Linked DNA regions of Homo sapiens: all the other regions are linked to region 2. The links are contacts of gene promoters, found by promoter capture Hi-C in blood cells and fetal thymus (Javierre and others, 2016). All regions are on one chromosome and are shown on one strand. The core of a region is centred on a gene start or on the middle of the fragment in contact, and the rest is flanking DNA. Distances in the headings are between cores, read along the strand shown. Region 1 overlaps KIAA0319L (KIAA0319 like). Region 2 holds the start of C1orf216 (chromosome 1 open reading frame 216). Region 3 overlaps ZMYM4 (zinc finger MYM-type containing 4). Region 4 overlaps KIAA0319L (KIAA0319 like). Region 5 holds the start of ZMYM4-AS1 (ZMYM4 antisense RNA 1). Region 6 has its middle 4.4 kb from the start of ZMYM4.

Region 1 (4,641 bases), core at 275-2,774, 260 kb after region 2:
GCTTGGGCCAGGTTGATCCTTTTAAAACATAGTAACAATGATAGCTGATATTTCTTGAACATTTACTATGTGCTAAATACTATTCTGAGCTCTTTGCTGGCAGTATTGCATTTAATTCTTATAACAGGTATTATGGTTATCCTCATTTTACAGATTAGGAAATTTTGGCACAAAGAGTTTAAGTAACTTGCCCAAGGTCACACAGTCTAACTCTAGAGTCTAAGCTTTTAACCACAAGGTTAACCTACAGGTTTTTTAGTGGATGGGGTATGAGAGTGATTTTTTTTTCCTAACCTTCATTTTAAAAAAAATCTATGAAATGATATGATTTGATTTGATTAGCATTAAGGTTGTAATTCACTCACCTTTTCCTCTCTCTTTTACATGGCAGTAGCCTTTTTCCTCAGCCCTATAGTCAGCTGCTGTTTGGTTTCAGGATCTTTGCAGGCAAGCCAGGGACTGTTTGAGGTGAAAGAGAAAATGGGCAGCTGCCATTTTGCCGTCTGTCTATAAGGTGCTTTTGTCCTGACATAGGAGACAAATGGCATATGTTAAAAACAAAAAACAGGCTGGGCGCAGTGGCTCATGCCTGTAATCCCATCACTTTGGGAGGCTGAGGCGGGTGGATCATGAGGTCAGGAGATCGAGACCAGCCTGGCTAACAAGGTGAAACCCCGTCTCTACTAAAAATACAAAAAAATTAGCTGAGCATGGTGGCAGGTAGCTGTAGTCCCAGCTACTCAGGAGGCTGAGGCAGGAGAATGGCGTGAACCCAGTAGGCGGAGCTTGCAGTGAGCCGAGATCGCACCACTGCACTCCAGCCTGGGCGACAGAGCGAGACTCCGTCTCAGAAAAAAAACAAAACAAAAAAACCCAAACCTGTGAAAACAACAGAGAAACTAGGAAAAGAGGCAAAACTTCTGTAAATTTTTGTTTTTCAGATATCTGCTGATTGGTACATGTTTGTGTGTCTGAGGTTTTTGTGCTTTTTTCCTAAAGGCTGTAATACCAAAAATCCCCTTCACACCATAGGTAAAAGGTGAGACTGCAGGATAAAACCTCACTGACGTCTGGCCCTGTCTGTGGCTGGTGGTGAGATTTAAACAAACTACATGTCTTTTCTATGCTTTTCCTCTTTCTGTCAGCAAAATGGAAAGATCCCAAACCTCCTTGCTTGCTTATGCTCACATTTTGAGGTGGCATGAGAAGCTTTAGGCTGTTCAGCTGGAAGGCATCATTTAGGTAAAAGCCTGCTCTTATAAATGAACATTTTTTTTTATTTTCTTTCTTTCTTTTTTTTTTTTTTTGCAAATCCTGTGTCTCACTGGCACAAATTGTGGGACTGTTGCGTAGGAGAATTCATTTTCATCTCAAGCTCCTGCCTTACTGGAGCCAGCCCTCCTGGTTCGTCCCGCAGGCTGTCTGCCTAGGATGTCCATCGTTGTGATGTGTAAACAGCTGGAACAGGATGATGGGAAAACAGCCTGCTGCAGACGGAGCTTGCACTACATAGCGTAGGGAATCGGGAATAGGGACTAAGAATTACCTCTTCTTAAGATTTGGTTTCTGAGCTTTGGAATCAGAGAACTATGCTTGCATCTTGGCTCACTATATAGCCCTTGGGTGGGTTACTTAGCCTCTCTAAGCCTCTTATAAAACTGGAATCAATGATGCCTACTCTATATGGTTGTTATGAGGGCCATATCAGACAATTCTTATAGAGACCTCAGGACACAGATGCGTGCAGGCAGCAGCAGGACAAAATGGCGCTGGAGACATATTGCCTGGATCAGAACCTGACTCCACTGCTTTCAAGCTGTATGACCTTGGGCAAGCTTGCTTCCTTCCTTCCTTCCTTCCTTCCTTCCTTCCTTCCTTCCTTCCTTCATTCCTTCCTTCTTTCCCTCCCTCCCTCCCTCCCTCCTTCCTTCCCTCCCTTCCTCCTTCCCTCCATCTCTCCTTCCTTCCTTCCTTCCTTTTTCTTTTTTTTTTTAAATGAAGTTTCCCTCTGTCTCCCAGGCTGGAGTGCAGTGGTGCAATCACAGCTCACTGCAACGTCCGCCTCCCGGGTTCAAGAAATTCTCTTGCCTCAGCCTCCCAAGTAGCTGGATTATAGGCCTGCACCACCATGCCTGGCTAATTTTTGTATTTTTAGTAGAGATGGGGTTTCACCATGTTGGCCAGGCTGGTCTCAAACTTCCAACCTCAGGTGATCCGCACGCCTTGGCCTCCCAAAGTGCTGGGATTACAGGTGTGTGCCAACGCACCTGGCCTCTCTGTCTTTCTCCTCATATATGTGAGGAGTAAAATGAGGATGATACTTTATAGAATTGTTGTGAGGATTTAATGAGATATAAAGAACTTGGAGCAGTGCCTAGCACATCATAAAACTTCAGTCAGTGTTAGCTTCTAGTAGTACTTTCTGCTTCTCCAATAGAAGTGGGTAAGAATAGGTAACCTTGCCACATTGGTATTTCTTAGCCTTAATTTTCAGTCTTCTAGTGTTTATTCCTCTTTCCTTAAACCCGTCCCTGATCACACTCCTCTCTCTGCCCTGATAGCTTGACTGTAGTAGACTCTGATGGAGCTACCAACTCTACTACTGCAAACCTGACAGTGAACAAAGCTGTGGATTACCCCCCTGTGGCCAACGCAGGCCCCAACCAAGTGATCACCCTGCCCCAAAACTCCATCACCCTCTTTGGGAACCAGAGCACTGATGATCATGGCATCACCAGCTATGAGTGGTCACTCAGCCCAAGCAGCAAAGGGAAAGTGGTGGAGATGCAGGTAGGAGGGAATGGTTCCTATTTTTTCTTGCCCAAGAGAAGTAGAGCTGCTGGACTGCATTTTTAGAAACCTCCAAACAAACTGAGAAAGCTTTAGGGGCCTTTGATTAACGTGGTAGCAAAAATCTTTATCTTGGCCGGGTATGGTGGCTCACGCCTGTAATCCCAGCACTTTGGGAAGCTGAGGCGGGCGGATCATGAGGTCAGGAGTTCGAGACCAGCCTGGCCAACATTGTGAAACCCCGTCTCTACTAAAGATAAAAAAATTAGCCGGGCGTAGTGGCGTGCGCCTGTAATCCCAGCTACTTGGGAGGCTGAGGCAGGAGAATCCCTTGAACCTAGGAGGCGGAGGTTGCAGTGAGCCGAGATCACGCCATTGCACTCCAGCCTGGGTGACAGAGCAAGACTCCATCTCAAAAAAAAAAAAAAAAAAAAAAAAATTATCTTAAATGTTTAGTATTAGAGGAAAAGGCTGAGAAATGTTAGTTGTTCTGGATGACTCCAGAGAGTCAAACTATTTAGAAGCTACAAGGGTGCAAATCTTAGTGAGCTCTATAACAAGTTAGAGTAGATTGGCTAGATGGTGAGTATCTTCTCTCTAGAGATGCTTAAGAAGAGAGACTAGATCTGTCACCAGGCAGGTAACATAAAGAAAGAAAACTGGATGGTGGCTGTGCTGAACTTAAGCCCTGACTAAAGGAGTCATCTACTCTTCAGGTCCAGCTGGTTGTTGCCACATGGAAGGATGGTCCTAACATTGCTTGATAACCCAGCTTTTCAAGAGAAGAAAGAAATTGAGACCTTTATGTGAAAATTTCCAATATGAGAGACACCACAGGCCAAAAAAAATATTTGCAAGCTGGATTCAGCCCATGGGCTACTAGTTTTTGCCTACTGCTCTACAGGAAGTTCCTGCATTGGAAGTTTGCCCAAAATTATTTATAATGTCCCTCAAGATTCTATATTTCTCAGTTTTAAGGCCTCCCTTAAAGCCTCCATTTTACCTGACTTTTGTTTAAATGTTATGTTAGGTTGTTGCAGAACCTGTACAGACCTGAAGGAGACAGTATGGTGTTATACAGCATCTTGAGCTGCTGCCATGTTTCACTGAGACAGCTTTGTTAGGAGCACTGTGTAGCTTCAGTAGGAAGAGGATCTTTTTAAACAGTGTTTTTAAAACTGGGTCATTTATTGTTTGTTCACGGTATTCTTTCTGGTTTGAGTCATAGAGACTGGCCTTGGTAATCTCTGCACATTTCCCAATACTGCCCTCTCTTATGAGAGTTCTGGCTTTATTTGAAACTGCTGCTGTGTCAGAGAGGGTTGTTTCCTTGAAGGGGGAAACCCTTAGCAAGGTGCCTCATGATATCTGACTCCATATTCACTCACATGCTGAACTGGTACGTAATAGCCCAGTACCATCTTAGGTCTTTGGTTTAGAAAACTAAATCGTTTTTACCAGAGTCGGAATTATTGTGTGATGTGATTCCTGGAGTCCACTTTTCCACTTCTGTATTTGTATTTGTAGGGTGTTAGAACACCAACCTTACAGCTCTCTGCGATGCAAGAAGGAGACTACACTTACCAGCTCACAGTGACTGACACAATAGGACAGCAGGCCACTGCTCAAGTGACTGTTATTGTGCAACCTGGTAAGCTCCAGCCTTGTGGTTCAGGCTCTTCTATTGGTGGGTCCATTTAACCTTGGGGGAAAAGAGTGTTGGGTTCTGAGCTGTATGAGGGTAGAAGCAGAAGGCACCGATCCATAGAGCCTCTGGTGACTTCTATTGTTCCTTCCCCTTGTGCTTTCTTCATAGCTAGAGATGAAGGATACTTCCCAGCCTCAGCTTGT
Region 2 (4,369 bases), core at 740-3,239:
CAAAGAGAGGCGGAGAAGGGCTATTCTGGGCAGAACAAACAATTGATGACTTTATGGCTCTGTGGTCTGGGCAGAACTGCATAACCCTAGATCACCAAAGCTGAGAGCCTTTAGGAGTGAGGATTTGGGCCAGGCATGGTGGCTCACGCCTGTAATCCCAGCACTTTGGGAGGCCGAGGTGGGTGGATCACAAGGTCAGGAGATCAAGACCAACCTGACCAACATGGTGAAACCCCATCTCTACTAAAAATACAAAAATTAGCTGACGTGATGCATGCACCTGTAATCCCAGCTACTCAGGAGGCTGAGGCAGGAGAATCGCTTGAACCCGGGAGGTGGAGGTTGCGGTGAGCCGAGATTGCGCCACTGCACTCCAGCCTAGGCGACAGAGCGAGACTCCATCTCAAAAAAAAAAAAAAAAAAAAAAAAAGTGAGGATTTGGGTCACCCCAGGCTGAAGGCCAGGGGAACCTGAAGTGGATAAGGGAAGGGAGAAGACTTAGGCCACAGGATCTGATGTAGAAATGGGGCTGACGTCTCCACCTGTATTTTCTTAGCTGGAGGAGTGTGCAAAGTTTGAATTACTTCTGCCTTCTCCTTCTTATTTCCTTTTCCCTTTTAAAATAGTCATCATAATCATAAAAATTTCTTTTCCATTTTCCCTGTTTTTGCATATAGGATTTCTTGGTGTGATTTAATTTGCCAATTAGTCTCTAGGTTGCAGAATGGTGACTTGGAATCAAATTGAAACTGGAAGAGGGCACCTCATATATTAGGGTCAGCAATTACTGAACTCTGTTCTCTTTTATTCCAAACAGGGCCCCCAACTTCACATTTCCCCAGGGTGCAAAAGAGTGAGGGGGGTCAAGCTTCAGTAGAGTGGAGCTCTGAGAAGAATCCACTGGAGTTTGGAACCCAAGACCCTTTTTTATCACGCTGTTCCTCCTCACCTGGGCAAAAGCACTGGTACCCACTTCACAGGCATCATGGGTGGGCTCTGTGTCCTGCGGAGAGCCCCCGTCCCGGGTACAGGACATCAGCCCTGAGCCCTGTCCCAGGCTTGGATCTTCTTTCTCTCTCTCTCTTTTTTTTTTTTTTTTTTTTTTTTTTTTTGAGACGGAGTCCCACTCTGTTGCCCAGACTGGAGTGCAGTGGTGCAGTCTTGGCTCACTGCAACCTCCACCTCCCAGGTTCAAGCGATTCTCCTGCCTCAGCCTCCCAAGTAGCTGGGATTACAGGCGCCCGCCACCAAGCCCGGCTAATTTTTGTATTTTTAGTAGAGATGGGGTTTCACCATGTTGGCCAGGCTGGTCTCAAACTCCTGACCTCAGGTTATCTGCCCGCCTCGGCCTCCCAAAGTGCTGGGGTTACAGGCGTGAGCCACCGCACCCGGCCTCAGTGACTTTAGTCAAGTAAGCACAAAAAGGAATATATAATTCCAAATTGTGATAAATGCTATGAAGAAAAGGAATGTGCTCTGACATAAAGGGGGGAACGAACGTGATCTAGGGAGTCAGAGATCTCTCCGAGAAGAGATCTGAAATAGGAGTAAGTCGAGAGGGGGAAGAGAATGCTAGACCGAGGGAACAGTGCGTGCCAAAGCCGCGTGGCGGAAAGGGGCGTGTGGGAGGGTAACTGCGGAGAGGGAGGGTAGAGGACGAAGCCGGAGAGGCAGACGAAGGGCAGGACGCACAGAGCCCCGCGGCTACCGCCTTAGGGGTTGTCCCGGCGGTGGGGAAGCCATTGAGGAGTTTAACGCCGGAAGGTGGTGACTAATCAGATTTCACTTGAAAATGGCACGGTGTCTGCAGCGAGGCTAACTGATGGGAAGGGCCCAGCGAATGCCAATAGGAGAGAGCACCGGACCTGGAAGGCCTGGGTCAACGCGGCCCCGCGCGGGGGCGAAGCGGTTCCGGCGCAGGGGCCTGGCGCGGGGCTCCGCGGAAAACCGAACCGGCCCACGTGGGACCGGTCGCTCCGCCCTGCTGCGCAGACGCCGCCTGACTCCGCAGTCCGGGACTGGGGCTGGGCGCGCTGCCCGGGAGCCCCGCACCCACGCCTGGACCGCGGAGACGCCCAGGCCGAGGAACCCCCAGCCCAGGGACTAGACACCACCAGGGCCGGGCGGAGCCAGAGCCAGACGCGCCGGAGCGGGCGCCTCTACGCCGTGAGTCCGAGTCTGGGGCCCGAGGCGGGGTGGGGCTTGGGGCTCAGCCGCGGGAAGCGGGGAGTCACAGTGGCCTCCTTCGAGGAGACTAGGGAAGGATGGTCTCTGTCTCCTGGGGTGGTCTCCCACTCCCGCAAGGCCAGAAAAGGAGGCTGCCTCCTGTTTGGGCGGAGACCTAGTCCTGGCGTGTCGGGGTTCTCATTTTACTATCTCTGAGAACCCTGTGATCCCTAGCGCCACCCCCACCCCATCCCAGCTTCCTTCACGGCCCCATCCAAGTATAGGAAAAATAAAAAATTGGGGCGAGGGGAGATCTCTAGGCACCTTCCCACAAGCCTTGCTTAGAGGGCGATTAGAAACGAACTGTTCCTACACCCTTCTCCCCAGGACTTCTCTGCCCATTGCTGGGGGTGGGGAGGGTCCATGCCACCTATGGAGCGCCTTCCAGTGCCGGCTCCACTTACAATACCCTTCCTCTTCATGCTCTTCAATTGTTCTAATCCCAGTGCTGTTTGGTCAGTAGAATCCCTTTGTCAGTTCAAATCCTAATTTTGGTTAGAAGCAGGTTATGGAGGAGAGAAGAGTGGTGTGGTATGCCCTCCCTCCAGGGCCTCAGAATGGAGCAAGCTAGGGACGGGGACCGCAAGATAGTGGCTGTGTTCCAGAGGCATTGGGAGGGAAGGGGGCAGGCTCAGAAGAAAAGCTTGTCACTGGGGAAGGCGGGGCTCCCTGGCTGGGGTAGGAAAGGGAACCAAACCCAGCTCTTCCAGAACCCAGCTCTTCCAGCCCTGGGGAGTCAAGAGTGGATTCCTGAGCATGGAAATTCACTGCAGTCTCTTCTCCCATTCACTCACTTAGCAAGTACCTGTATGCACAGACAGCCTGGTTCAGGGCTCTATGCTGGCTGACTCTGGGGAATATGATGGAGGATATATACAGGAGGTCCAAGCCAGATTACAAACTGCTATTACAAGATCATTACCACAAACCAAAAATGCCAGTTGAATAGACATTCACTGATCGTCGACCATGTATGCCAGGGACGGATGCAAAGTTGGATAAGACAGTGTATACCCAGCGCAGTGGGGACCCAGAGGAAGGCATAACTAACCGTGCTTGTTTATGTAATATTGATTGGGGCAGTATCAAGACGGCTTCAGAGACATGGGGACATGGAAACATGGGGATATTACAGCTAATTTTGAAGTACAAAAAGGAATTTGCTGGGTGGAGAAGGGAGGAGCTTTGAGGGGAGGGGAGAGGAAGGATATTGTAGGCCAAAGGAATACTGTAAGAAAAACAATGGTGTGTTTTGAGATCTCTGGGCAGTTTGCTATGATGGGAGGGGCAGAGTGGCAAGAGGCAGGTATGGAGGGGTGAGCAGGGGCCAGATCAAACAGGGTGTTGTAGGCCAGGTAGAGGTTTAGCAGGAATTCAGGGAGGGCATTAGGAGTGGTGACAAGTGAAATTTACATTTTTAACTGGAGGCAGAGAGATCAGTGAAAAGGCCGAGGCAATAATCCAGGTCAGAAATGGCCTGGAAGAGGAAGAATGGTCAGAATGTGGTTATTAATGAGATGGGAGAAGGAAGGATAGTGAGGACCCCAGGATGCTCTCAGCTTTCTGGATGGAGTACAGAGCCATCTTGCTGAGGATACTGAAGGAGAGCTTGTTTGGTTATGTAGAATTTTGGCGGGGGGCGGTGGTGGAGGGGGATGATGTCACTCTGTCACCCAGGCTGGAGTGCAGTGGCGCAATCTCGGCTCACTGAAACCTCTGCCTCCTGGGTTCAAGTGATTCCCCTGCCTCAGCCTCCCAAATAGCTGGGATTACAGGTGCCTGTCACCATGCCTGGCTAATTTTTGTATTTTTAGTAGAGATGGGGTTTCACCATGTTGGCCAGTCTAGTCTCGAACTCCTGACCTCAGGTGATCTGCCTGCCTCGGCCTCCCAAAGTGCTGGGATTACAGGTATGAGCCACCATGCCTGGACTGGTTATGTAGAATTTGAGGAGACTATGGTTGGTTGCAGGGTTGGATAGCAGTTGGATCTGGGCTGAAGACAGATCTGAGAGTCACCAGCATATGATGGTCTTTGAAGCTACAGCAGAGAATGAGGTCCTCTGGAGAGAAATGCACAAAATCAGAAGACAGCCTGGCTCTGAGGACGGAGGAAAAACCCTTTGCAGGAGACTGAGAATGAA
Region 3 (4,938 bases), core at 2,028-4,527, 310 kb after region 2:
CAATCAGCAAACAGGGAAACATTATCCACCTGCCTTTCCCTCCCCCAGTTAATACCAACTGAGGCCAGGCATGGTGGCTCACGCCTGTAATCCCAGCACTTTGAGAGGCCGAGGCGGGTGGATCACCTGAGGTCAGGAGTTCGAGACCAGCTTGCCCAATATGGTGAAACCCCGTCTCTATTAAAAATACAAAAATTAGCCAGGCGTGGTAGCACATGCCTGTAGTCCCAGCTACTTGGGAGGCTGAGGCAGGAGAATTGCTTGAACCTGGGAGGCGAAGTCTGCAGTGAGCTGAGATCACACCACTGCACTCCAACCTGGGTGACAGAGTGAGACTTCATCTCAAAATAAATAAATAAATAAATAAAAATCAATTGAGAGCACAAAGTGGGTTACATATATATAAAACTAAGCAAACAGGACACAGACATTAGGTGAAAAAGATAATCTTAGTAAATGAACAATTCAGAAAAAAGTTTATACAAAGTTGAACATCACAAATACAGATTTTAGTTTCAGTGATTTAAATTCTCACATTCAAAAAATGTATTTCACTCTCAGAAACTGATTTTGGGAAGTTCAGGACTTATGATTCTATTCAAAAAATAATAAATTTAATTTCTAATCCTATAATACCAAGATTAAGTTTCTGAACATTAAAAACAAACTTATTTAATAGGCTGTTTTTGAAATGCAAGACAATAAACCTTCTAATAAAATTGTCACTGCTATTATTCTATTGTGTACAAAAGCAGTATATTGTAGGTCAGCTTTTAAGTTCCTTCAGAATTTCACAATGTTAACTAAAAAGAGGGGCTCTGGTCAAAAAAAGATTTAGAAACAATGGACTAAAAGTTCTGCAGGTTTCGTTTAACTAGTGATTGACTCATCTGGGGCTAGTAAATTAGTGATTCTCAACCCTGTTTGTATTTTTTAATTTCCTGAGAAGTTTTAAAATGCAGGCTATTTGAGCTCTGCCCAATTAAATCAAAATTTCTAATTTAAAAGCCAATGAAAGTATATTGAAGCACGTGATTCCTCTCACTTTGAGGCCAGCCTTTGACCACTCTCTGACAATAGAGAAAAATATTCAAATGTTAAAGGTACACTCTTTCACGTCTAGCATTTATAATTACCTTTCTGCAGTAACTCTCTATTTTAGTACTACTACTAAGACTTCAAAGAGAAATCTGACAAACAGTATCCCGTACCTGGTTCTGACTCCTGCTTCTGTAAAGGTGGGAAGAACCTCAGATATGTCATCTTGGTACTGTACTTCAGAGTCCTGGTCCGTCTCATCACATGGGCAAAGGAAAGCTTCAAGTGCTCAGTAACATTCTTTAGTTGGAAGTATTTGGTATTGAAGAAAAGGAGGGTGTTTAAAAGGACGATTGGTGAGTAAGCGCCCAGCTGTTTGCACTCCCACAAATGCTCTTCCTCAATGCGAGAGAACATGTAACCTAGACAGAAGAAGGGGTACAAGAAACAGTACTGAGCTCCTGCTAAAGTAGACTAAGTAATCTCTCAAATTCTAAGACAGGGAGATATAAAGAGAAAAACTGACTATTCCTCTTTCCCCTCTTCCTTATGCAGAAAACCAGAAAACGCACCACAAAGAAAAAGGCAGATGATTCCACTCAAGTAGACACCGTTCGTGGAGTCTCCTGAAACCGTTTTAATCTATTGATATTTTAGATTAGGGGTTAAGCTGTCTTTATAAAGGGCCAGAAAGTAAATATTTTGGGATGTGTAGGCCATATAGGCTCTGAACAACGCTGTTGCTGTAGAAACTAAGGAGCTGTAGAGAACACATAAACAGGCAGAGCTATATGCCAGTAAAATTTATTTATAGTCATATAATTTTCTTTTCTTTTTTTTGAGACAGGGTCTTACTCTGTCACCCAGGCTGGAGTGCAGTGGCACGATCAGGGCTCACTGCAGCCTCAAACTCCTGGGCTCAGGTGCTTCTCCCACCTCATCCTCCTGAGTAGCTGGGACTACAAGGCACCACCACCATGCCCAGCTAATTTTTTTTATTTTTTGTAGAGACAGAGTTTCACCTTGTTGCCCAGGCTGATCTTGAACTCCTGGGCTCAAGTGATCCTCCTGCCTCAGCCTTCCAAAGTCACACCTGGGACCACAGGTGTGAGCCACCACACCCAGCCATGAATTTAATATAATTTTCACATGATGAAATAGGAATTCTTAAAAAAATTTCCCCAACTATTTAAAAATGTAAAAACAATTTTTAGCTCATAGATTGCAAAACAGGGAGCAGGCCAGATTTGGCCCATGGACCATAGTTTGCAAACTCCTGTTGGAGATCATTAAGCTTACTGTTAAAGGTGCTCTGCAGCCCAACAGAAAGGTGCATATATTACTAAGCATAACATTGAACCTCTTCATTCACCTCAGCCTGAGACCTGGAGTGAATTATGGACTTGTCTGATGACATCTGGTCAAAGATAATTCAAGGACGAGGACTTAACTCTCTTAACAACAGTTCAGTATACATACAAACTACCAAAAAAGGTCCACTGTTAGCAGATATGATATGTGAAAGCTACACCAATGCTACCAGATCAAAAATGGTTTCTAAAAAGGTAAATGTAACTTCAAATTAGTTTATATTTTCTGCAATCAGTATCTATACATGTGCTATATGACTTGTACAGTTTTCCTAAAACAATCAACAATAAACCAAAGACCGTCTCCTCAGAAGTCCAAATATGGTATAAATCTGGACAGAAATAAAAATGAACAATTTTTTTAAAGATAACCAAAAAAGTTAAGCAATTTAAGAAAGCATATCATGAAAACAATAAAAAAAAAATCACCCTACCATTAGGAAGTATTGTAGGTTCCCATATTTTCAAGAGTTTGGTAAGTTCAATCATAAATCTGGAATAGGGCTCAGTAAAAATGTTATCTATTCTACCATTTTCAAACAGGTACTACAAGAAAAAAAAAAGAAAATATACATGTTGATAAAAAGAAAACATGAGTTCTTAAAAAATTATTGTAAGAAATACAGTTTACCCTTAATTTTTGCCCTTACAATATTATAAACCATGTTTAACCTCTCAGTACCTTAGAGATAGTTGTTAAAACACTAGAATTCAAGCTAAAGCTCCTGTTCTTATTAACACATTATCTTCAGCACTGACCTTGCAAGGTAAAGTTTTTGTACTTCGTTTTCAAACACGGATGGTACAGAAGAAGTATTATGAAGAACCCTTTACTTAGTTCCTAAAACTGACATACTAAAACTTGGTTCCAATGCACACGTTCCAAATCATGTTTTTCCTGATTCATAATGTGTATCTGCAGATGTGCTCTTTTGTTTTTTACCCTAGATACAAGATCATTTCTTGCAATCACACAGTTAGCTAATGTCAGTTGACCTGAGGAAACCCAAATTTAAAAACTATTTATTTGGAGCCTTCTAACTACAGCTCTCAACTCTGCCCCACAACCTAGCCCTCAAAAAAGTTCAAGTCTAATTATAGGACATTGAACTATGTTAATTATAACCATTAACAACCATATCATAGGCTAGAACAAAAAGAATACCTATAGTTTAAAAATGTATTGAGCCAGGAATGGTAATCCCAGTGCTTTGGGAGGCCAAGGTGAGAGGATCACTTGAGGTCAATAGTGCAAGACTAACCTGGGCAACACAGTGAGACCCATCTCTACAAAAAATTTAAAAACAAATAGCCAGGGGTGGTGGTGCATGCCTGTAGTCCTAACTGCTTGGGAGTCTGAGGCAGGAGGGTTGTTTGAACCTGGGAGTTTGAGACTGCAGCAAGCTATGATCATATCACTGCACTTCAGCCTGGGTAACAGAGCAAGACCCTGTCTCTTTTAAAAAGTACTGACGGCGCAGGTCAGATAAAATCAATTGAGACAGGGACACACCATGAGTAGTAACGGAATCCAAGGCAGCATGTAATTACGTGATAAAAGTATTTTGGTGTTTTTAAGGTTTAGTATTTTTAATTTATATTTCTGTGGCTATCTTGGTTTCTTGCATTTCTATGTATGATTTGGAGAAAATTATTTCCATTTAAATTTATTCTGGCTAACAAAAATTACCACTTCAATAGGCATTTTTATGAGGCCTCCTCAAAGGCAATTTATGAACTTATTGGCAGATTACAGTTTGTTGTTCAACAGTATTCCTCTTTTTCTTCTTTTAATATAGTCACTTTCAAGCTTAAAAATATATCTTCGTTATTGAAAAAGTTCAAAATAAAGAAAAAGTAGACTATTCAAACTCATTCAAACTCATCACACAAAGTCAACTACTATTCATATGCAAAAATATTTCCAATCTTTAAGAAATTCCATTATGCAGAAGTGAGTTTTGTACAGTTACAGAAATATATCAGTACATATAACGCAACATACATGTTTAAAAAAAGTCTCTTCCCCCTTAACCAGGAACAAGACAAGAATGCCTATCCTTGCCATTCTTCGTCAACACTGTACCGCGAATCCTAGCAGAGCAGCCAGGCAAGAAAAATAAATATAACGCATTCAAATAGGAAAGGAAGAAGTAAAATTATCTCTAGTTGCAGGTGACAGAATCCTATATATAGAAAATCTTAGAGAATACACAGAAAAATGAATTATTAGAGCTAATAAGTGAATCCAGCCAAGTTGCAGCATATAAGCAATACACAAAAATCAGCTGTATTTCAAGCTAGCAATGAACAATCCAAACAGGAAATTAAGAAAGTCCCGCCAGGTGCGGTGGCTCATGCCTGTAATCCCAGCACTTTGGGAGGCTAAGGCGGGCGGATCACAAGGTCAGGAGATCGAGACCACGGTGAAACCCTGTCTCTACTAAAAATACAAAAAAAAAAAAAATTAGCTGGGCGCGGTGGCGGGCGCCTGTAGTCCCAGCTACTTCGGAGGCTGAGGCAGGAGAAT
Region 4 (4,835 bases), core at 402-2,901, 290 kb after region 2:
CCTTGAGGCCAGTCTCCTGATGCTGGATTCCTTGTTTTCCCTGCAGGCATCAAACAGAAAGGCCTTTTGCTAAGTAGCAGCCTGATGCACTCCGAGTCAGAGCTGGACAGCGATGATGCCATCTTTACATGGCCAGACCGAGAGAAGGGCAAACTCCTGCATGGTCAGAATGGCTCTGTACCCAACGGGCAGACCCCTCTGAAGGCCAGGAGCCCGCGGGAGGAGATCCTGTAGCCACCTGGTCTGTCTCCTCAGGGCAGGGCCCAGCACACTGCCCGGCCAGTCCTCCTACCTCCCGAGTCTGCGGGCAGCTGCTGTCCCAGCATCTGCTGGTCATTTCGCCCTGACAGTCCCAACCAGAACCCCTGGGACTTGAATCCAGAGACGTCCTCCAGGAACCCCTCAACGAAGCTGTGAATGAAGAGGTTTCCTCTTTAAACCTGTCTGGTGGGCCCCCAGATATCCTCACCTCAGGGCCTCCTTTTTTTGCAAACTCCTCCCCTCCCCCGAGGGCAGACCCAGCCAGCTGCTAAGCTCTGCAGCTCCCCAGTGGACAGTGTCATTGTGCCCAGAGTGCTGCAAGGTGAGGCCTGCTGTGCTGCCCGCACACCTGAGTGCAAAACCAAGCACTGTGGGCATGGTGTTTCCCTCTCTGGGGTAGAGTACGCCCTCTCGCTGGGCAAAGAGGAAGTGGCACCCCTCCCCTCACCACAGATGCTGAGATGGTAGCATAGAAATGATGGCCGGGCGCGGTGGCTCACGCCTGTAATCCCAGCACTTTGGGAGGCCGAGGCGGGCGGATCATGAGGTCAGGAGATCAAGACCACCCTGGCTAACACGGTGAAACCCCATCTCTACTAAAAATAAAAAAAAAAATTAGCCGGGTTTGGTGGCGTATGCCTGTAATCCCAGCTACTCGGGAGGCTGAGGCAGGAGAATTGCTTAAACCTGGGAGGTGGAGGCTGCAGTGAGCCAAGATCGTGCCACTGCACTCCAGCCTGAGTGACAGAGCAAGACTCCGTCAAAAAAAAAAAAAAAAAAAAAGAAATGATATCTGGCCCCCCCTTAACACTGGAGCCCCACTCCCTTCTCCCATCCGGCCCGAGATTAGGGAGGATTGACTGTGTCAGGGATGGCGGGTGGCCTCTCTCGCTGCCAGGGCCCTTGTCAGAGCAGCCAGGCTGGACAGACGGCCTCCCTCCTCTCCATCTGACCGGCACCTGCTGCTTCGGGGCTTAGGCCACCGCTCCCTGTCCCCAGAGGAGATAGCCCCAGATGGACTGGAATGTTGTGGCATGAGAGCGCATGTGTGCGATGGCCCCGCTGTGGTCCCCTCTCTGTCCCTCCATCTGTATGTGTTCTGTGTCCCTTGCATGTGTGCGTGTTAGAGTGAGCGCGTATGCATCAACTCATTGGGCTCTTGGCTGCTCACAAGGCAAATTTGACTTGGAAAGACTTTCATCTCCTTGGAACCAAGACTTCCTGAGTCCCCCTCACCCTGGCCCTGTTCCACCATGGTTATCTGGGTATTGGGGAATGGAAACTTTGGGGGAGTGACTTTTTAAAGAGACACTTATAATTTCTACTACTGCACTACTGTCCATTGTGGGATGATTAAACATGGTATTTAACTGTGCACTCTGTCTGCTGGGTGTGCTGCTTCACGCTACGTCTCGGACCCGTGCACAGCTCCCACCCCCTGGGCAGCCCTGTGAGGTCGTGTCCTCTGGCAAGGAAGTTTTGGGCCTGGCATCAGCACATGCAAGCAGTGGTGCTGGGCCCTGCCTGCCACTGGTGGGTGGGAGTGCACCACCCCAGTACCCCTGCTGGCTTTAAGGGAGGAGGGTTGATGTCCCTTCTTCCCATATCTTTTGTTAACACAAAAATGATCATGTCCACCTGTGACCAAGCTGGGGAGACACAGAGTGTCCTAAAGTCCAGGGTGTGGCTTTAGAAATTTTGACCACTCATCTTCCCTTTGGTGTTCCCAAATAGTAGAGGTTGGCCACATGCCCCCAAATGTGTTGACTGTACCTAGTTCACAGAGCACTTTGCTGGGTATGTGGCTTGGGAGGGCTGGTGCACAGCCTAGCACTCCCAAGACAGGGAGGACGGAAGGACCACTGAGCTCATGCTCCCTCCAGGGCCCTGGGCACAAAACCCTGCTGCAGGAGGGCAGCAGTGGCTGTTTTTACAGATCGAGAGCCAAGGCATAGTGAGATGAAGTAACTTAATCTACACACATGGTGACAGAGGAGAACTCAGGCCCGGCAGAGCCTTGCTCGCTCTGCAGCAGTCTCCAACCTCAAGACGAGAGGCTTCTTCAGACAGGTTGCTGGGTTTCTAATTCAGTAGGTCTGGGGAAGGGGGAGGACATAAGAATTTGCCTTTCTAACAGGTTCCCAGGAGATGCTGATGCGCTGGTCCTGGGCCTCCCTTTAGAACCTCTGGCCTAGAAGCACAGTCAATGCCGCATGAATAGGAACCAGCACATGTCCCATCCTGAGTGAGGGTGAAAGAAGTAAGTTTAGTAAAGGGAGGTCTCGAATCTGCCAAGGAGTGTCCTCCAAGCTAAGGGCACAGGTTTGCTCAGTTGACGGGTGGAGGTCGGGGGCAGTGTTGCAGCCCAAACACAGCCACAGCAGACAGGCTCTGTGGAGCGGAGGGCACTCCAGAGAGTGGCCAGATGAAAAACAAGTTGGCCCGCACACAGTGGAAGCCATTGGCAGCTCGGGCAACAGAACAGTGGAGCTGGGTACAGGCCAGACTGCACAGAATAGCTGGATGGGAGGCGATAAGGCCTTGGTGAGGTTGGTGCATCGGGAATAGCTTCAAAGGATTTGGGAAGGAACCGCAGGACCCGACCACTTACTAGCTTTGTAGTAAAAAAGGGAGGCTTCCCTTTTCCTCTGGGCCTCTTTTCTCCATCTTGTTTACCCTCAGCTACAACCCACTGAAGGATATATATACATATATATATTTTAGTTGGAATTTTGCTCTTAAATGGGGAGCTGAATCCTGGGAACACTGGCAATCATGATTTTTCTTCTTTTTTTGAGACAGAGTCTTGCTCTGTTGCCCAGGCTGGAGTGCAGTGGCGTGATAACTGCAAGCTCCGCCTCCTGTATTCAAGCAGTTCTCCTACCTCAGCCTCCCCAGTAGCTGGGATTACAGGCATGCACCACCACGCCCGGCTAATTTTTGCATTTTTAGTAGAGATGGGGTTTCACCATGTTGGCCAGGCTGGTCTTGAGCTCCTGACCTCAGGTGATTCACCCACCCGGCCTCCCAAAGTGCTGGGATTGCAGGCCAATCATGATTTTTCTTGGCATTTATTAGTTGGTTAAATAAAGCATTAAAAGAGAGAAAGTGCCATCCTGTTGGAGCAGTTGAAGCTTTTCCCCAGGTAATGCCCCTGTCTTCAAGTGGATCCTAGGAGCCTAGAATCCTCCCCCTCTGAAACCTGGGGCTCTATATGGGGGCTGTTGACAATTTCTATGCTTTCAGCCACGGTGCAGCACTCAGCCTTTTGTCCCCAACCCGCTTGCAAGTTCATGAGGCTAGACCCATAACTTCTGTTTTGCAACACTCTTACCTCTAACACAGCACAGATATTAAAACATCTTACGTGAGCTACATGATCTGGGAGTAAATGCCTCAGAAGTTTCTCATTCTGATTCTGTTACGTAGAAATAAAACAAACACACGAGTTTCAATAGCGTCAGATGAAAACAGTTCCTGTCTTGCTACCCATAATCTGTATGTTCCATCAGTGATTAAGGGACAGCAGTAGAGAAACCACAGAAACCATAAACATGGCTGTTTTCAGGAGCGACCAGTGCACACCACTTTATTCCTATCTTATCTCAGAAATCCCAAGCTATCTCTCTTAAAAGCACGAGGCACTTTTAAACATGGTACTCTTTGGAAATACCAAATACCATACTCTTATTTGGGAAAGCAATATAAACTTCAGCATTTCAAAACCACCAATGTCAACTTACCCATCATCCTATCCCTAGTCTCCACCACAGGAACTGGGATGCCCTTTGAAGTGTGCCCATGATGAACACAGAGCCTGACAAACATCAACATAGGCATGCGGAGAGGTTCCAGGAGCACAGGAGGGGGACACAATCTGACCAGCCCAGGGATGTGACAGAGGTGGTTTCTCAAAGGAAAACGCCAGTTAAGGCGGGGAGGGAGATGGCAGATCTGGTCGCTGCTGGTTTCTCCCACACAAATCCTCCAATGGAACCTGGCCTAGGAAGTTCCCAGGGAGTGCTACTTGGGGAGAGAATAAAGAGATGGAATGAAAATACTGAACTGTAACATATAAGATGGGGATGGGGTGATGACTGTAACCTAGTCTTTCCATAGGACGATGGTAGAAATACTCATTTGAGAAAGTCAGGCATTCATCTTAAAAACATTGAGAAAGCCACTGAAAATTCAGAACTAGAATGTAGAACATCTAAACCAGACAAGGAAAGAAAAAAATTAAAAGATTTCAACCAACCCATCAGCAGGAAGGGAGGGAAAAAAAATCAGCATGAAAAATGTGACCACTTAATAGGCATTAGTTTTCAGATTGGATGTTAACGACAAAACCACTACCACCAAACAGAACTTAACAGACTGGGTTTAATTGTAAATCTCTATTTACAGGACAGACAACTAAAGCATCACATAGACTGAAAATAAAAAGACAAGATACACTGGGGCTTTGGATCCTATTAAGACAGTGAACTAGCGTATGCTACAGGTTCCCTTCCCCAAAAATCAACCCTAGAAAAACAACATCATCAACTGAGGCACCACTACCACAAATCAAA
Region 5 (4,516 bases), core at 99-2,598, 350 kb after region 2:
AAACCCTGTCTCTACTAAAATTACAGAAATCAGCGGGGTGTGGTGGTGCACGCCTGTAATCCCAGCTACTCAGGAGGCTGAGGCAGGAGAATCGCTTGAACCCAGGGTGGTGGGAGGGCAGAGGTTGCAGCGAGCCAATATTGCACCATTGCACTCCAGCCTGAGCAACAAGAGTGAAACTCTGTCTTTTAAAAAAAAAAAAAATTAATTAATTGTATGATGTTCAACCATTTAACAGCATTTGCCACATTCAACCTCTCCATCCATTTTTTAGAATATATGTGTAATAAGTGTGTGTATGTGCATGCCTATTATTCTTCTACAAAACTTCATAACCTAACCATTGATATTTTCATCAGAATTGCATCAAATCTAAATCTCAATTTTTTTTTTTTTTTTTGAGATGGAGTTTCACTCTTATCCCACAAGCTGGGGCACGATGGTGCGATCTTGGCTCACTGCAACCTCCACCTCCCAGGCTCGAGTGATCCTCCTGTCTCAGTCTCCCGAGTAGCTGTGATTACAGGCATGCACCACCACGCCCGGCTAATTTCTGTAATTTTTGTATTTTTTAGTAGAGACAGGGTTTCACCATGTTGGCCAGGCTGGTCTTGAACTCCTGACCTCAAGTGATTCGCCCCCCGCTTGGCCTCCCAAAGTGTTAGGATTACAGGCGTGAGCCACCGCACCTGGCCTTAAATCTTAATTTAAAAATAACTGACATCTACATATTTCTTACATTTAAAAAGATGGTCTCTTCATTATTTCAAGTTGTATTTGATATAAGTACTTTTTAGTTGCTGCTGGGAATAGTGTATCTTTTTCATTATATCATCTAACTGGGAAGTTTATTTATAGAAGTATTGGTATAATTCAACTAGGTACTCCACTAAATTTTCATGAATTCTATTAATTCTTTCATAAATATTCTTAATAGCAAGTGATAATTTTATTTCCCTTTTTCCATTATTTTTTCTTCTAATTTCTTTAACATGGATTGAAGTAAAAATCCAACAAGAGTTAAATAATAACGATGACATCCGCAACTTGTATTCTTTTAGTAATATTAACAGAAGATTTCCATCATTTTACTTCAACTTCAATAACTGTTACTGATCTGAAGTAGTAGTTCCTTACTATGATCAAGAAAAAATCTATTCTAAGAAATGTCTGAATTACATGAGATGTCTTTTGGCATCTAATAAAGTGACTATTACAGATACCCTTATTTGACCTGCTGATGAAATATATGTATTAAAAGATTTTCTAACATCGACTAATCATGACATTCCTTCATTATATAGTGTATTAAAGAAAATTTCCTTAAATATTTTTATTTTAATCTCAGAAAACTCCAGAAACAACCAATACTCATTGGCATACATTAACGGTCTGCAGTCAGCTCTCTTAGTCTCTGTGATGGCTATTGCAAACTTCTGCTGGATTCCTTTAGCCTTGAGTACGTATTATTTATGTAATATAGTAAAATAGTATACATCTTAAGTACTGTTTGTATGGTCCACAATGCCTTCAAGGCACAATCATGTTTGGTTTATGTTTGGATCCTCCCATGATCACTAATTTTACAAGTATTTGATAAACAAATCAATGAGTAGCCAAATACTAATAAATATTTTCTGAGAAGTAAATATCTAATTGGTAACCCAAAAGCTTTCAGAAGCAGAAAAACACATGCCAAAACACAAAAAAATTCCTTTACCAATACCTTTACCTTCTTAGTTTACTACAAATGAAGATCAATATTAATATCCCATGAAAGTATTTTAGAAATGAATAACACAGTTTCTATTGCCAAATTAACTCAATATGGCTAAAAGAGCCCCAACATTTGAATTACTACATTTTCTTTCCAAAACTGTGTGAATGACTATTATGACAATTAGTTCATTTGCTTTCCCATTTTAATTGAGTTCTTTCAATGAGAGACTACACATTAGCTCGTCCTCTATTATTATGAACAAGAAGAAAAAGAAATCATGACTTTAATGTAGTATTTACTGAATGTACAGTTTTTAGACCCTATGGAAAAGGCAAAAGAGGAAAATGAGGTCTCTGGCTCTCTTTAAAGTATCTATTTTGAAACCTTCCCTTGGTATTTTTAAAATTAAACAACTTTTATTTACAGAAAGATTGGTAGACTAAAAAAAAAAAAAAAAAAAAAAAAGACTTTGATTATGACCCCAGATTGGCTCCTTCCTGGCCATGAGGGCTTGAGTAACTAAATCTCTATATCTCTCAGCTCTCTCACCTATAAATGTTAACATCCTCTACTCTGGCCATCTTATACAGGGTTGTTAGGCGAATTAAGCAACACAGTACGTGTAAAAGCATCTGTAACTGTAAAAATACTACAGAAAACATTATAGAAACATGCAATAGAATTAGAATGAAGAAATGAAACTGTGAGACCCAATGACATTATGCCAGTAATAGAGGCAGGAGGACGGACAATGACTGGCAAATCCAGAATATCATAACTGAAGAAATAACCAAGAGCAAATGGGTAGAGGAAGTTAAATACATACACACACATTTCAGCACCTTGTTTATATAGTAAAGTAAAGAAATTAGGACCAAAATGAATTGTGTAAAAAAGAGAATTAGGAAGTGAGCTAAAAGCAAAACTACCTAAATTAAGCACAAAGAAAAGCCAAAGGAAGTTTTGAAAAGGTGCCATAAACTAAAGCTATGATTTTATTGAACCATGAAAGAAGTTACTGGTAACTGATGGTCAAAAGTAAACACTGACCACAACTGTAAAATCTATCAGTATTTTATGAGAGGCTAATAGTACTTTTTTGAGACTAATAATATAATACACTAGAGTTCTCTTTTCCAGTCCATGGGAAATGAATAAAAGTAATAAATTATGCAATTTTGAAAGGCAATACTCTTCTAAAAGAAGGAGGGAAGGTGGAGACGGGTGTGGAAAAGACAAGAAAAAGAAAAGAAGGAAAGAATCACATATCTAGTTTATAACATGAGAGCTGCTCTGGGGGATTTCTAGAAGAATTATCAAAGGTCTGATCCTATAGGACTGGTATTGCTGACAACAAAAAGGACTCCTCAGGGAAAACCTAGCTCTATCCACTCACATACTACAAGTCCCTTATTGTGGGGTCAGGGTAAAGAATGCTTTTGGATCTTATGCCCAGGACCTACTCACATTACTGCTTAATTCTCAAGTCCAATCAATCAGGGAGTAAGCCTTTGGGGAAGTTCTTCCCATAATCATGATGAAACTTCATATTCATATTCAGTATTTGATAACACATTTTATAATTCTGAATAAGTATATAAAAATTTAAGTGTTTCTATCTGTTCCATCCTATTTATATTCTCCAGCCACTGGAACCTCTGATTGTTCTGAAAACAACAATACTAATAACCTTCTCAGTGTTCTCTACCCCTATTGTATTTGGTTTATGCTCTAAGTGCCTTTTTGTCCCAAGGAAGTGTCACATGGTTCAAGTACAAAAGAAAGAGATGATTTTGGTACCCTGCCAGCATGCCCACATTGGGGCAGGAGAAGAGATACAAGATCTGCCCTTCATATAGACATGGCTGTAGTCTTCTGAAGCATATACTGCCACATGAACTTTCCCCAGGTGTTGGGACATCTATTTATCCCTAATTCAGATATCTAAGATCTCCATTACCTGCTTCTATAAACATGCTTTTATTTACCTTCTATTTAAATAGAACAGAAAAATCTATTTATATTCCTTCTACTTTCTTCTTTGTAGCAAGTATACTCATATCCATCCAACTCCTATAGCTTTATCACTACCCTAACACATCCAACTTCCACTGAACGTCATGGAATTCATGCTAACTGAGCATCAATTTGACTCAGTGACTCACATGAATCACCAACCTCTGCAATCTCCTATTCTTCCATCTGCTTACTCTAATACAATGGTTCTCAATAGATCATTTTTTGTTAAAATTGGCAAGGGAGGAGGCTGCTACTGGCATGTAGTAGGTAGAGGCCACAAATGCTTACTAAATGTCCTGCAATGCACAGGACATTTCTTCACAACAAAGAATTATCTGGTCCAAAATGTCAATGCTGTGGAGTTTGAGAAATCCTGTCCAAAAACATCTAAATGAAAAATGCACTTGACCAGGCACGGTGGCTCACGTCTGTAAACCCAACACTTTGGAAGGCCATAGCAGGAGGATCGCTTGAGCACAGAAGTTAGAGACAAGCTTGTGCAACTTACTTTACCAAAAAAAAAGTCTCACTCTGTCATCCAAGCCGGAGGGCAGTGGCACAATCTCAGTTCACTGCAACCTCCACCTCCTGGTTCAAGTGATTCTCCTCCCTCAGCCTCCGAAGTAGCTGGAATTACAGGCACCCGCCACCATGCCTGGCTAATTTTTTGTATTTTTAGTAGAGATGGGATTTCACCAGGTTGGCCAGGGTGGTCTGGAACTCCTGACCTCAAGTGATCTGCTGGCTTCAGCCTGCCAAGTGCTGGGATGACAGGCG
Region 6 (4,685 bases), core at 970-3,469, 450 kb after region 2:
TGAAATATCGTAAAGTAGACATTGTAAATTGGTGGCCTTGTGACCAAATCTGTCCCACAGAAATGCATTTGATTTGTATTGTGTATAGCTATATGATCTTGGTCAAGGTAATTGTCCTGTGCCTCACTTTCCTTATCTGTAAAATGGGACACCAAGAGGATTAAATTAGTTAACATCTCTAAATCTCCTAGAACACTGTTGGTTCCTAATACCATATGAGTATCATTATTATTATTATTATTATTTTTTGAGACAGAGTCTCACTCTGTCATCGAGCTAGAGTGCAGTGGCGCGATCTGGGCTCACTGCAAGCTCCGCCTCCCGGGTTCACACCATTCTTCTGCCTCAGCCTCCCGAGTAGCTGGAACTACAGGCACCCGCCACCATGCCCGGCTAACTTTTTGTATTTTTAGTACAGACTGGGTTTCACTGTGTTAGCCAGGAGGGTCTTGATCCCCTGACCTTGTGATCCGCCTGCCTCGGCCTCCCAAAGTGCTGGGATTACAGGCGTGAGCCACCGCGCCCGGCCATTATCTTTTTTTTAAAAAAAAAAAGTTAAATCATATATCAACATTTTAAATGGGATATTTCACCTACAAGTTCAGTGCTCTGACTTGTTTCAAAAAAAAAAAAAAAAAAAAACTAGACTATAATGGGGCTAGTATCTTGCAAATATCAAACAGATTTCTTTTAACTTTCTTAAGTCATCTTCTGTCATAGACTCTTGCTTGAAATGTAGCCTTGAGACTTATTTTCCCAATCAGGAGAGAACAGAATGGAGAGAAAAAGAATTTGCTAAATTTTCTTAGTTCCATTTAATCTATGAAGCTCAGCACATAATAATTTCATAGAGTTTTTACATACTCCACAGGAAATGCCTTCCACCCAAATATCCTTCCATCCAGGACAGCTAAGCCATGAGGCTGCATATAGGGAAATAAAAGAAAAGTCTGACTCTTTTAATAAAAGGGTAGAGAGAAGAAGAACAAAGAGAAAAGTAAGAGAGGCATCATTGAGAGACATGTGCTCCTGTCTTCCCATTCCAGCTCTTCAAGGCAGAGAGGATTCTTACTCTGCTCCTGTTTAAGATTCCAAGTAGAGATGACTTGCAGACTATGCCCATACCAACAAGCAGACAGCCACATATGAGCAAAAGTCATGCCCTGATGTAGTTGGGAAAAAAGAGCAGGTCTGCATTTAGCTCCTCAGAGTGTCTCTCAGCCAGAGATGAATCCAGGTTTTACAGATCTTGAAGCTTACATGATGGGGGGAGAGGGAGGGTTTTTTTGTTTGTTTGTTTTGTTTTGTTTTTAAGAAAAAGAACACAGAATTACATACACAAAATTAGGTACAGGGTTTTGGGCGGAGCTCTGCAAGTGAGTGGTCCTTAGCTCCTGCGAGAGAAGATATCCAGAAGTTCCCACATACCCTGTAGAAGAATACGGAAAGTAGCCAAGAATGCTGGCTGGCAAGTATAGGAGGAAGTAGCTCTGTAAATTACACTGGGCCAGGAACAAAAAGTAGTAACAGCCAGACCTCAGGAAGAGCTGTGTGGTTTGCCTTCAGGCTCTGAGCAAACTTAGCGAGGCCAGGCTACAAAACATTCCACTCTCTTAACAACAGGCTGTAGAGCATCCTGAGAGGTCAGGGACTCCGAATAGATTCAAGGTCTCAGGCTTCCCCAAAGTCATAATGCCTCATAAATGCAGACGTTATTTTAGATACTCACTCAGAGGGAGAGGGCAGCCACAGGAAAGATACAGTGTTTCTTTCCAAAAGAAATTATTAACTAACAGAATTCTAACCATTAGATTCAAATATGTTTTAAACTACATTGGACATTTAGGTAGATCCATTCAGAAAATGTTAGGAAGAAAGTAAAACAAGTGGGATAAAAAATAACTGTAGTGGGGCTACTTTAGATATGTTAGTCAGTGAATATTTTCCGAGGAGGTGACTTTGTTTTTCTTTTTCTTTTCTTTTGGAGGCAGGGTTTTGGCTGGGCACGGTGGGTCATGCCTGTAATCCCCGCACTTTGGGAGCCGAGGCAGGTGGATCACTTGAAGTCGGGAGTTCCAGACCAGCCTGGCCAACATGGTGAAACCCTGTCTCTACTAAAAATACAAAAATTAGCTGGGCATGGTGGCACATGCCTGTAATCCCAGCTACTCGGGAGGCTGAGGCAGGAGAATTGCTTGAACCCAGGAGGCAGAGGTTGTAGTGAGCCAAGATCGTGCCACTGCACTCCAGTCTGGGCGACAAAGTGAGACGCTGTATCAAAAAAAAAAAAAAAAAAAGAGGCAGGATCTTGCTCTGTCATCCAGGCTGGAGTGCAGTGTCACCTTCATAGCTCACTGGAGCCTCAAACTCCTGGGCTCAAGTGATTCTTCTACCTCGGCCTCCCAAAGTGCTGAGATTACAGCTGTGAGCCATCGCACCTGGCTAGGAGGTGACATTTGAACTGAAACTTAAATCATGACCTCATGACTGAGAGCCATCTGTGCAAATGTCTGGGTCAGAGCATTCCAGTCAAAGGGAGCAGCAAGTGTAAAACCCCTTGGCAGGAACAAACTTGAAGTGTTCAAGAAAAGCAAGGTGCCGATGTTACTAGGACCAAGTGAGATGGGGCAGAAGATGAAGTCAGAGAAGCAGACAAAGACAAATTATGAAGATCCTTGGATGCCATGGTAAGGATTTGTAATTTTCTGTGTATGATGTAAAGCCATTGAAGTCTTTGAAAAAAAAAAAAATGATGTGAACCCTCTGGATACCATGTGCATTGCAGAATAAGCCATAAAGGAGCAAGGGTGGATGTAAGTTACGAGGCTTTGTGGCAGTCCAGGTAAGAGATAACAATGACTTAGCCTAGGGCATTGGCGTTGGAGATAGTAAAAATTAGATTCAGAATATATGTATTTTGAAGGCGTAGCCCATGGAATTGCTGCTAATGAATTGGGTGCTGGGAGTGAAAGAAAAAGTGATTTAGGGATGATTCTTAGCTTTTTAGCCTGAATAGATAGGTTAATGCTGTTGCCCATTATTTGAAATGCAAAAAAAGAGAGCAGATGTGAGAAAGTGGGCAGAGAAAGAAGGAAGATGTCTTGGACATGATAAATTTGAGATGCCTCTAGACATCCAAGTGGAAATGTCGAATAGCAGTTAGATATTCAAATCTGAAGCTTAGGAGAGATAACAGGGCTAGAGATAGAAATATGAGAGTCATTGATATAAGCCATAGACTTGATAGAGTTACCAAGAGCACGTATATTGAAATGAATCCGGAGGCACCCCGACATTTACAGCTCAGGAAGAGAAAGAGAATCAGCCAAGTAGCAGGAAAGTCAGGAGAATTTGTGGTCTCAGTAACCAAATAAAGACTGTTTTGGGAGAGGCTCAATTACTAATTTTTCAGATGTCACTGAGAGGACAAGTAAGATGAGGCCCAAGAATTGATGATACGATTGAAAGATCTTTAGTGATCTGGACTAGAATTATTTCAGTGGATTTGTTTAAACATAAGCATGATTGGAGTGGCTGGAAGAGAGAATAAGAGATGAAGACATAGAAACAGTGAATGTGAACAATTCTTTCAAGAAGTTTCACTTTGAAAAAGATTAGAGAGATAGAGTGCTATTGGAGAGGAATGTGGCCCAAGAAATCTTTTTTTAAAAGATGGGAATCACTAATGCACATTAAAAATAGTAAACCATGACCAAATACATTGGAAAGGTCAAATAAATGACATGGGCCAGGCGCGGTGGCTCATGCCTGTAATCCCAGCACTTTGGGAGGCTGAGGCAGGTGGATCACCTGAGGTCAGGAGTTTGAGACCAGCCTGGCCAACATGGTGAAACCCTGTCTCTACTAAAAATACAAAAATTAGCTGGGCATGGTGGCAGGCATCTGTAATCCCAGCTACTTGAACCCGGGAGGCTGAGGCAGGAGAATCGGTTGAACCTGGGAGACAGAGGTTGCAGTGAACTGAGATTGCACCATTGCACCCCAGCCTGGGCGACAAGAGCAAAACTCCATCTCAAAAATAAATAAATAAATAAATAAATAAATAAATAAAATAAAATAAAGGACATGGCTTCCAAAACCTCTCCCTCCAAGCTGAGACAAACCATGGAGATGAGGCTGAGACAGTAGAGAAGAGCCAGGAAGTAGATAACCAGGCAGGTCAAAAAGAAATCACGCATCCTGGGGTAAATCCAACTCTAGAAGTCAGTTCTCCATCTGGTATTTAGTCCCTCGGACATGCATTCTTTAGAATTATCATAATTATTGTTTTTTTCTGCAAAGGAAGCTAAATATCAGTTCATTGATTGATTATTTATTTATTTATATTAGAGACAGGGTCTTGTTCTGTTGCCCAGACTGGAGTATGGTGGTGTGATCATGGCTCACTATAACCTGAAACTCTTGGGCTAAAGGGATCCTCCCACCTCAGCATCCTAAGTAGCTAGGGCTACAGGCCTGTACCACCACTCCAGGCTAATTTTTAAAATATTTTTTAGAGATGGGGTCTCTCTATGTTGTCCAAGCTGGTCTTGAACTCCTGGCCTCAAGCAGTCCTCCCACCTTTACCTCCCAAAGTGCTGGGCATGAGCCACTGCGCCCAGCCAGTAAATTCAGTGTACTTCTTCTATAAACCTTGTTCTTCAAGTTCTACTGGATGAGATACA

What was found. Contacts are between HindIII fragments. The CHiCAGO score rates a contact against its expected background, and 5 or more counts as called.
Region 1: a contact is called between a fragment that was not itself captured here and the fragment with the promoter of C1orf216 in region 2, in 4 of 17 cell types (total CD8 T cells, naive CD4 T cells, fetal thymus and 1 more). The highest score is 7.6, in total CD8 T cells.
Region 3: a contact is called between a fragment that was not itself captured here and the fragment with the promoter of C1orf216 in region 2, in 1 of 17 cell types (endothelial precursors). The highest score is 5.3, in endothelial precursors.
Region 4: a fragment that was not itself captured here is called in contact with the fragment with the promoter of C1orf216 in region 2 in 1 of 17 cell types (endothelial precursors); the score reaches 6.9 in endothelial precursors.
Region 5: a contact is called between the fragment with the promoter of ZMYM4-AS1 here and the fragment with the promoter of C1orf216 in region 2, in 1 of 17 cell types (M2 macrophages). The highest score is 5.3, in M2 macrophages.
Region 6: a fragment that was not itself captured here is called in contact with the fragment with the promoter of C1orf216 in region 2 in 1 of 17 cell types (M2 macrophages); the score reaches 5.4 in M2 macrophages.

Annotation. Positions count from the first base shown.
Region 1 is chr1:35,454,162-35,458,802 of GRCh38, reverse strand. It overlaps KIAA0319L (KIAA0319 like), which reads left to right. Exons shown (of 21, transcript NM_024874.5): 10 at 2,562-2,790; 11 at 4,318-4,441. Among named protein-coding and RNA genes, the nearest start is that of ZMYM4-AS1, 90 kb to the right of the region's middle. The HindIII fragment of the contact is 626 bases long and covers 1,212-1,837 here.
Region 2 is chr1:35,716,504-35,720,872 of GRCh38, reverse strand. It overlaps C1orf216 (chromosome 1 open reading frame 216), which reads left to right and starts at 1,989. Exons shown (of 2, transcript NM_152374.2): 1 at 1,989-2,166. It also overlaps a transcript of CLSPN not described here. RefSeq lists silencers at 1-165, 1,828-2,257. The HindIII fragment of the contact is 2,001 bases long and covers 871-2,871 here.
Region 3 is chr1:35,411,988-35,416,925 of GRCh38, reverse strand. It overlaps ZMYM4 (zinc finger MYM-type containing 4), which reads right to left. Exons shown (of 30, transcript NM_005095.3): 27 at 2,843-2,954; 28 at 1,212-1,460. Among named protein-coding and RNA genes, the nearest start is that of ZMYM4-AS1, 48 kb to the right of the region's middle. The HindIII fragment of the contact is 1,886 bases long and covers 2,335-4,220 here.
Region 4 is chr1:35,430,293-35,435,127 of GRCh38, reverse strand. KIAA0319L (KIAA0319 like) reads left to right here. Exons shown (of 21, transcript NM_024874.5): 21 at 47-1,636. The coding sequence ends at 234. Among named protein-coding and RNA genes, the nearest start is that of ZMYM4-AS1, 67 kb to the right of the region's middle. The HindIII fragment of the contact is 3,493 bases long and covers 1-3,397 here.
Region 5 is chr1:35,362,909-35,367,424 of GRCh38, reverse strand. ZMYM4-AS1 (ZMYM4 antisense RNA 1) reads left to right here and starts at 1,348. Exons shown (of 2, transcript NR_046659.1): 1 at 1,348-1,459. The region is part of intron 5 of ZMYM4 (zinc finger MYM-type containing 4); the gene reads right to left. The HindIII fragment of the contact is 9,120 bases long and covers 1-1,673 here.
Region 6 is chr1:35,261,930-35,266,614 of GRCh38, reverse strand. No RefSeq gene overlaps it. Among named protein-coding and RNA genes, the nearest start is that of ZMYM4, 4.4 kb to the left of the region's middle. The HindIII fragment of the contact is 1,924 bases long and covers 1,258-3,181 here.